Regions from separate parts of the Homo sapiens genome. Here regions 1 and 2 are each linked to region 3. The links are contacts of gene promoters, found by promoter capture Hi-C in blood cells and fetal thymus (Javierre and others, 2016). All regions are on one chromosome and are shown on one strand. The core of a region is centred on a gene start or on the middle of the fragment in contact, and the rest is flanking DNA. Distances in the headings are between cores, read along the strand shown. Region 1 has its middle 270 kb from the start of SYNE1-AS1. Region 2 holds the start of MYCT1 (MYC target 1). Region 3 holds the start of SYNE1-AS1 (SYNE1 antisense RNA 1).

Evidence for each region. The method cuts DNA at HindIII sites, captures the fragments that hold promoters and counts their contacts. A CHiCAGO score of 5 or more calls a contact.
Region 1: a fragment that was not itself captured here is called in contact with the fragment with the promoter of SYNE1-AS1 in region 3 in 1 of 17 cell types (neutrophils); the score reaches 6.5 in neutrophils.
Region 2: a contact is called between the fragment with the promoter of MYCT1 here and the fragment with the promoter of SYNE1-AS1 in region 3, in 1 of 17 cell types (endothelial precursors). The highest score is 5.3, in endothelial precursors.

What each region holds. Positions count from the first base shown.
Region 1 is chr6:152,112,279-152,115,290 of GRCh38, forward strand. It overlaps a transcript of ESR1 not described here. Among named protein-coding and RNA genes, the nearest start is that of SYNE1-AS1, 270 kb to the right of the region's middle. The HindIII fragment of the contact is 6,058 bases long and covers 1-3,012 here.
Region 2 is chr6:152,696,292-152,699,235 of GRCh38, forward strand. MYCT1 (MYC target 1) reads left to right here and starts at 1,606. Exons shown (of 2, transcript NM_025107.3): 1 at 1,606-1,807. The coding sequence starts at 1,612. The HindIII fragment of the contact is 10,649 bases long and covers 554-2,944 here.
Region 3 is chr6:152,379,185-152,381,986 of GRCh38, forward strand. SYNE1-AS1 (SYNE1 antisense RNA 1) reads left to right here and starts at 1,346. Exons shown (of 2, transcript NR_120501.1): 1 at 1,346-1,409; 2 at 1,876-2,529. It overlaps SYNE1 (spectrin repeat containing nuclear envelope protein 1), which reads right to left. Exons shown (of 146, transcript NM_182961.4): 56 at 1,822-2,178. The HindIII fragment of the contact is 6,155 bases long and covers 943-2,802 here.

The DNA of each region.
Region 1 (3,012 bases), core at 386-2,885, 270 kb before region 3:
CAATATGGAGATTTTTTTCCTCTATTTTCTGTGATTGCTTAGAAGCAGAAAGTTAAAATAGATGCCCTTTCAAATTTCCTGTATCTCATTTCAAGTCAAGTGTCCCCGACTAGTGAGTTCCTCCTTTCCCCAGCAACTCTGTGACACTGGAGATTCAAGACCTCAGCAGCTACCAGGGATATTTAGGCCTCTGGAGTACACAAAGGCCACCAAAGGAAGAAAGGGCTTAACAATGCCCCCGGGATCCCATCAAGCCAATCAAAAGGATTGAAAACCCTGAATAAGCAAGGTTTATCACCAGCCAAACTATGTCACCATCCTGGTGCCACACTGCCCATTCCCACCGAGCTCTGGGAAACCACCTATGTGCTCTCCTTGCCGGAGGGACATACCCAGCCCCAGAACGAAACTCTGCAGAGGGGCCAGCTACTGGCACTCCTGATGTCAGCACCAGCAGCTGACCTGGCAGGCGCCCAACCAGGAAACGAACAAGGGAAACTGGAAGCGGCCAAGGGATTTGCAGAACCTTCTGAGCCCACTGCAAAAGACCATGCCATTTCCATTCTGAAGACAAAAACGTGAAGTCCCTGTTCCCAAGACCCCCTACAGAATCCAAGAAAAAACAAAAAGGGAACATCAAAATGAAAGAGAGAATTCTTCATGGATGGATGTCACGAACGTGTTTTCAGGGAAGAACCCCAAATGGCAGTCAGATGGAGGTGGGGCGAGTGCTGAGCTCACCCAAAGAGGATGCCCATTCTGAGAACTGTTTCAGGAGAAAGAAGCGCAAAAGGCCGGGGCGCTGCCTGTCCCACCCTGCCGCCAGTGCTGTGTGTCTTGGGTGGCTCTATCACAGGTCAGCAAATTTTTCTGTACAGGGCCAAAGAGTAAGTAGTTTAGGCATTTCTGTTTGTTTGTTTGTTTGTTTGTCTCTCTTTGCTTTACAATTCTTTGAAAATATAAAACCCATTCTTAGCTCAAGGGCCTATAAAAACAGGCAGGGACTGTAATTCCCTGACCTTTGTCAGGCACCATCAAGCCACAGGTACCCTCCTGATGAAAGGAGTAAGAGTCCCTGACAGGTGGTCCTCTGCATGGGGCGGGGGGCACCTGGAAAGGGAGGGCCTGGGAAATGCACTCATCTGGGAGGGAGTCTTTCCATTCCCACTGGCTGAGTCCTCAGTTACCGCAGGGCTGTCGAGAGTCTGAGACAGAGGTCTGCCCTACAACATTGTGCTGAGAAGTAACGAACTGAGCTGTACACTGACACATTTGTGAAGAGGGAAGATCTCATATTGTGTGTGTGTGTGTGTGTGTGTGTTTAACCACAATCTTAAAAAAGAAAGAAACAACAATTTTAACAATTTTAAGAGACTTTCTCCTCATAAAAAAGATTAAAAACAAGTGTGGGAAGATCTGGTAATTCCCAATAGCGATTTCCAAAACCAAACTAGAGGAACGACTAAAATAGCGTTAACTGTCCCTCAGTCCTCATCAACACATCCTATACATTAATGTATTAACGTCATAACAACCCACGCAGGAGGCACCATTATTATCCCATTTTACAGAGGAAGAAACTGAGGAATAGAAAGTTTAAGTAAGTTGCTCAGGTTATACAGCTAGGAAGTGGCTGAGCTGGGGACTGAGCCAAGGTATTTTTGGCTCCAGAGTTTATGTTATGGAAGGAGCCTCTGTAAGATTTGGACAAAAGGGATTTTATAAATGTCCAGATCATTAGCTACTCTATCAGTTTTCCCACTGTGATTAGCAAACACCATAGGGAAGGTGTGGGAGGGAGGAACTGAGCCCCGTGCCCAAGCCAGGCTTGGGTGGGCAGAATCCTGTGTGAAGCTGTTGAATGGGAACAGATTTCAACGCAGAAGGAAAGCAGGCTGACTCTCTGGCACCTGCATCAGGAAAGAAAGGTACAGGTAGAGAAGCTGCCTATGACTTTCGAGTCACTGTCCCTCCCCGCCCCATCATTTCTGGGGACCAGTCTGCGACTCAAGAACTGATTTCACCTGTGAGCAGGGTGACTTCTGGAGGCAGGTGGTAGTTTAGGAAGTTGCGGGTTTTTGTGAACATGTAGGTCTCATTTGGACATCTCTCCTAGGAAAGCTCATCTCCTAGGATTCATAAATCCCCCAGTCAGGGAGCCTCCTTACCTCAAATCAGGCCTTTGCTCTTATGCCATGAAACCAACCATGCATTTAAGATGAAAACCTAGAGCAAAGTCATCCATTAGAATTTGGCCACTTTTAATAAATGACTTGTTAACATTTATTTCGGGCATACCAAGAAAAGTTTTTTAATTAAAAAGCAAGTCAAGGCCGGGCGCGGTGGCTCACGCCTGTAATCCCAGCACTTTGGGAGGCCGAGGCGGGCGGATCACGAGGTCAGGAGATCGAGACCATCCGGGCTAAAACGGTGAAACCCCGTCTCTACTAAAAATACAAAAAATTAGCCGGGCGTAGTGGCGGGCGCCTGTAGTCCCAGCTACTTGGGAGGCTGAGGCAGGAGAATGGCGTGAACCCGGGAGGCGGAGCTTGCAGTGAGCCGAGATCGCGCCACTGCACTCCAGCCTGGGTGACAGAGCTAGACTCCGTCTCAAAAAAAAAAAAAAAAAAAAAAAAAAGCAAGTCAAATGTTTCCTCATATAAGAACTGAAGTACTTTTCTTTTGTCTTTTAAAATTATCATTATTCTTATAGCAACTTGGATCTAAAAAACAAGTCATGCTCCTTGATGTAATTTAAATACAAATGTTTAAAGTGCTTTCCCCACTCTGACTGCAGTCAAAATGTCAAGCCTTATATTTCACATGTCTCTCCAAACTTTCACCTTGCTTCATGCCATTACTATATACACGAGTTTTTCCCTACAAAATGGAATCATATTATTCTATATCTTGTTTTTATAAAATGTAAGAATATATAGTAGGCATTTTCCCTAATCAATACATATAGATTGATTTCATTTTATAAAAATAGTTACGCCATACTGAATACTA
Region 2 (2,944 bases), core at 356-2,855, 320 kb after region 3:
AGACAACTGTTGAAATGTAAGCCCTTTTTGTCTGTTAAGTAATAGTAGGAGCTTTTATTTACTGGATTATTTGAAAATAAACTTTAGCAAGAATATTATAGAGGTGAGTCTTTATATTTGCTCAGTGAATTCTCTAAATTTTCTATGACGTTTTATAATTCTCTTAGATGATTTATATTTTAATTTCTAATAAATTTATACTTAAATTCACAAAAAAATGAGACTGATCAGAAACAACCTCATTTTGGAAGAAGCAGGACTGCAAAAATTAATATAACTGTCTTTTTTTGTTGTTTTCTTAGAACTACTCAGGAATATATTACAGACTTCACAAAGAGGAATACTACTTTGCACTAAGTCATATTCTAATGACTAATAAGTTAGAATATGATTAATACAAGATATATGCAAGAGTTCAGGCTAGAGTTACTCAAAGATTGATGAAGCCAGATCATGGAATGCAGTTTAGCGCAGTTACTAGGTGCAGTTTGACACGTTATTCACAATTTCCAGTGCCTCCAAAGTCCTCAGAGGATCCAGTCTAAACAAGCAAAGCTTGAGGAAAGACTCTTGAAATGTTAACTAACTTGTGTTTCTCAAAATGTTTCATGTAACTCTTTCCTATATCAGTTCTCAAACTTCTCTATAAAAAACAAATTCCTGAGATCGTTGTACCCTTTGTTATAGCACTTAACAAACTTTGTAATGAAAAATTTTGCATTTATGTTTTCCCTCCTTGATTTTAAATATATTTCTTCAATGTAGAAACTGTTTTTTCATACTAAATACTAAGTAAAGAGTAACACAAATTTTATATAAATTACACTTAGATATTTATGAAATGAATTAAATAACTTTCAAAATTTGTATACCAAATAGAGAAACAGACATGTTAAGAATATAGTGGCCGAGCGCAGTGGCGCATGGCTGTAATCCCAGCACTTTGGGAGGCCAAAGCAGGTGGATCACTTGAGGTCAGGCCTAGTTCATGACCAGCCTGGCCAACATGGTGGAACTCCATCTCTAGTAAAAATACAAAAATTAGCCGGGTGTGGTGGCACGCGCCTGTAATCCCAGCTACTCTGGAGGCTGAGGCAGGAGAATCGCTTGAACCTGGGAGGGGCAGGTTGCAGTGAGCCGAGATCGTACCACTGCACTCCAGCCTGGGCGACAGAGCGAGACTAAGTCTCAAAAACAACAACAACAACAACAACAAAGAATTTAGTAAGTATCTGAGTTTTGAATAGTCCTTTCCCCCAATTTACTATATAAATTTAATTTTCAAGCATTGGAACGTGGTCTATTTCTCAATTCTGTATACATTTAATTCAAGGTGCTGTAGCTGAGAGTTTGGAGTCTTCCTTTCCATGTCAGTAGGGGATGAGGAAACACACACACACACACACACAAACACACACACACACACACAACCCTGTTATCCTAAAAGCAGTTTTGGAGGTGGCTGAGAGGAGAGAACTTAGGAACTTAGCTGAGGAAATGATGAAAAGGACATTGTTTTGTGTCTCAGGAACCATGTGGAATTCCAAGATAAGAAAAACAGTTGCTAATTTGAGTATAAAAGCAGGAAACATGATACACTTATTTCCTTTTATGCGAACACAAGTATATGAGGGGTTGTGTAAAAATTATTTTTCTCTTGCTGTACTACAAAGAGATAGAATCAAACTGCTTTTTTTCGACATACTGGTTTTTCTTTCTGTTTTTCTTCTCTTTCTTCTATTTCTTGTGGATATTATGGCTAATAACACAACAAGTTTAGGGAGTCCATGGCCAGAAAACTTTTGGGGTAAGGTATTTTCTTTTACTGTTTAAAATTTAAAATTAGGATGTAAGAAATGCACTGCGTGATTATTAAAACAGTGAAAATCTCTGAGACATTTTGTTTACTATAATGTGATTACTTAAAGTTTTCATGTTTATTAACAGAAATCTATTTCATACGTTTATTAGCAGAAATATATTTATAGATATAAATATATACTTATATATTTATTTGTCTTTATAGTGTTCTATGAAGATATTCAAGAAGAATCTGGGTATTAAGTACAGATTTTGGCTGGTGTTACAAAATATAATTAGGAAATAGTGAGGATAAAAATAAAAAACATAAGGTGGAGGTAATTCCTGCTTAGAATATGGCATGTAGATTTTGTTGGAAAAATTAACTTTCATTTGTTTGAAGGTTATAGATTATATATTTTATTTTATGAAACTGAGATTTTCCATAGAGGCTATTTTCACTTATGTTGTGAATGTTATATGCTTTAATTTCCAAAGTGAATCCTAATAACATCTGTACTTAAATGAGTGAATTTAAAGTGCAATAACACAGGTAAAATAAATGAATGACTTTAGAGTATAACAAATAAAACATGGAATAATATGAAATTTGAGAAAACTATAGTAGAAAAGATTAAGTGGAAATAACATCACGTGTAACATTCAATGGAATCCTATCACAGGGGTTGGGGGGAAAGAACAATACAAAAGTATTTTTTGGAGAATTTTTTGTCTGAGTCCAGCCACAGCTAACAGTCCAGTGTTCCCTGATGTTGACAATGGGACTGTGCTGAGGTCAAAACTCAGTTGCTCCAGGTTAGAGGTACAAAGAAGATGGGCTCACATGGGGAGTTGACATGTACTCTTGGGTTCAGGGAAATTTTTATATTAAAGGAGGCAATTTAAATTAAATTCAGAAAAACACTTTAATGAAGAAAATAGTATATATGGACAGATCTGTTTATATGGCCAGAACAAGTTTTTAATCCTCTCAGTGTACAATTCAGACTTTCTGCTGTGATTCAAGGTGGGGTTTTGGGAACTTTCACATAAACAGTGAGCAGTAGTGGCCGACTTTTCCCAGCAATCTATATGTCTACCATCACAGAAATTTGCATGAAAAGAATTCACTCCAGTCCTTTAA
Region 3 (2,802 bases), core at 96-2,595:
TCTATAACTTCATCCTAAAGTATGTCAGTAGAGTCAATATATAAATATCAGCTTATGTATTTCTGATTCTGTTAAGTTCTAGAATGCATCTTTCCACCTTATACAGCTTAAGAAAATTATTTCCAAAGCTAATATCCCAAAGGATATTAAGATAAATGAGTTTCGCAAACATAGTAAATAGAATTATTTTTACAATATTATATTATATACTTTATAGATCATCTGTTTTTATGTTTTAAAGAATTTCTTGAGTATTGTCATCTAATTGCATAAAATAAATACTTTAATTCTTATTGTGATCATCAACAATGACAAGTCCTCCCTAAAAGCAAAACAATGCCCTAAGAACCCTAGCATATTTACTATTTTGTTAACATTTTCTTACATATTCATTGTGATAGAAATATCTCCACTTTTAGATAAAATGCCATTATTAGAAATAAAAGAAAACATGAATATTGAGAAGCAATGTAGCATTGTCATCAAAAGCATTGACCCTGGAGTCAAATCTGGAAGCAGACATACACAGAGGGCTGTCACATTTGAACTATTTAACACAACTGAAAACCCATATTTACTACTGCATTCTCATGTATATTTTTATAGGCCTCAACCATTATTTTTACTAATAATATCAACGTAAAAATAATGAACAGAATAGTAATGTAATCTAGGCACAGCCAAATCTTTCCTTTTTAAAAATTTCACTCTGTGACTGGAATAGAAAGAAAGGGAAAGAAAAAGGAACCAAGAAAGTGTAACTGATTTTTTCATATTATACCATGTAGAGCAATTATCAACTTCTTTGTCCCTCTGTGACAGAACTGATTTCTATGCTTTATTCTGGTACATAAATCTAAAGGACAGGAAATGGAACAGAATAACAAAAACAAACCCCCAAACCTAGAATCATTATAAATAGAGTAGCATAAAGAGGTAGAAAGCTTTATTTTATGGCATGCTGCATTTGTTTCAAATACTTGATTTAAAACCAGACACTGCTGGAAATACTACATGACTTTCTTACTGGCAGGAGCTATTTTGAAATGATTGTAATATAAATAGGAGCAGAGAAGTTTACTAAATTTCCTTTTAAGGACATCCATGAATCAGGGCATTATAAAACTGGAAATATTGAAAAGGCTTTCAAAGATACTGTTTAACAGTGAAAGAAACGAAGAAGAGGTTACACTCTTGCTCATTCTTCGGTCTCCCTTGTAGGCTTCCCTTTCTCACATTCTAAAGAAGCTGCCATTAGCTTCAAAAAAAAAAAAAAAGTCTCGGGAAGGTGACCAGGGAGGGTGACGTAGAGTTCTGTTAACAGGCTAATTCAAGAACAGCTGTCAAAACCACACAGAGGAGAGCTAATCGGGGAGATAACTATTTGCTGTGCTGTAGGAGATTACCAAGTGAGTCTTTTAAGGCTATAAATTCAATCATTTAGTTGTATGAAATAGTTAACTGGCAAGAAAACAGCTATGACTCTCTGTCTATTTATGCCCCTGCCCACAGGCCATTTTTCAGACTGAATGGCTGAATACAGTATTACAGACTCTTACACCATAGGAATGAAAGTAAAATGTCTCCACTAACAACAAATGTTTCCTACCGCAAATAATAACCCAAATCTTTATTTTTACAAAAGTTTGATATATAAGAAAAGGAAACAAATCAGACTTTGCTTATTTAATGAGATAAATACTTCTTCCAAGTGTGCATGTTGCGTGTTTTTAGTTAGCAAGATTTTTTTTTTAAGGAATGATGAAAGTCAAAACATTTTTTAAAGCATAACCACCAATAGAAAACAGGAAGCCAACTTACTTGTCCTTTGTGCCAGCATTCCACTATCTCCTCATCCGTGTTCTTGCCTTCCAGGAGGGTTAACTGCTGAGCCCAGGTTTTCAGAAGGGCACTGAACTGTTCCAGGGCCTGCTCCAGTTGAGCCACTTGGCCTGAGAATTCCTGCTCCGAAAGGGCCATCTGGCTGACCAGGTTCTCCAAACAGCTCTGCGTTTGGAATACACTGTCTTCCCACTGCTTCCAGTCGGCACGCAGGGCCTGCATCTCCGTGTGCATGAGCTCACACCCACTGGCAGTTGTGTTCTGTTTCACTTCGGGAGCCAGCGACTCCACTCTGCTGAGACGGCTTGCACCAATCTCTCTGGAATCTATCAGCTCCTGTAATGGAATATCACCATGGTAACTGAAGAGCCTGTGAGTCACTTGGACTGCAAGTTTTCAACTGTGTACACAGGGGGACCCTGTCCTGCCAGGAAGTTTTAACAAGTGTGCCACAAGGACCCAGAATCAATTCATCTGTCCACTCTTAAATTATAATAGCGGGAGTTGTCATCACGAGTGCCTAAGGCTTATGGCAAAAAAATCCCGAGAATCCTCAATATCCTGAAACAGACTAAACAGAGACCCTGAAATCAGGCATTATTCGCACACGTGAAAATGTTTAGTGACTCAAGTGTTTGCCTGTGGTGGATTGCTCCTGTGAATGATTAAACCCATATTTCCCTCAAAGTGGATGCTCAAGTAAATAAAGATCGTGGCAGAACTGTGTTCTGCTCACGGTCTCTATACTCAATTCATCTTCTTCAACAGGGTGGTGGCTTAAATCACACTTCCATTCTACTAGGAATCAAGCAGACTCATCACAGCAAAAGAATGAGCCCTACTCGATTCCAAATACCTCAATACTAAGTAAACATTTTTGTAGCATATAAAATGAATAATTCATTCATAGACTGACTTACTCAAAAGTTTAAAGTAACCTCTAGACTGAGTACATTTATT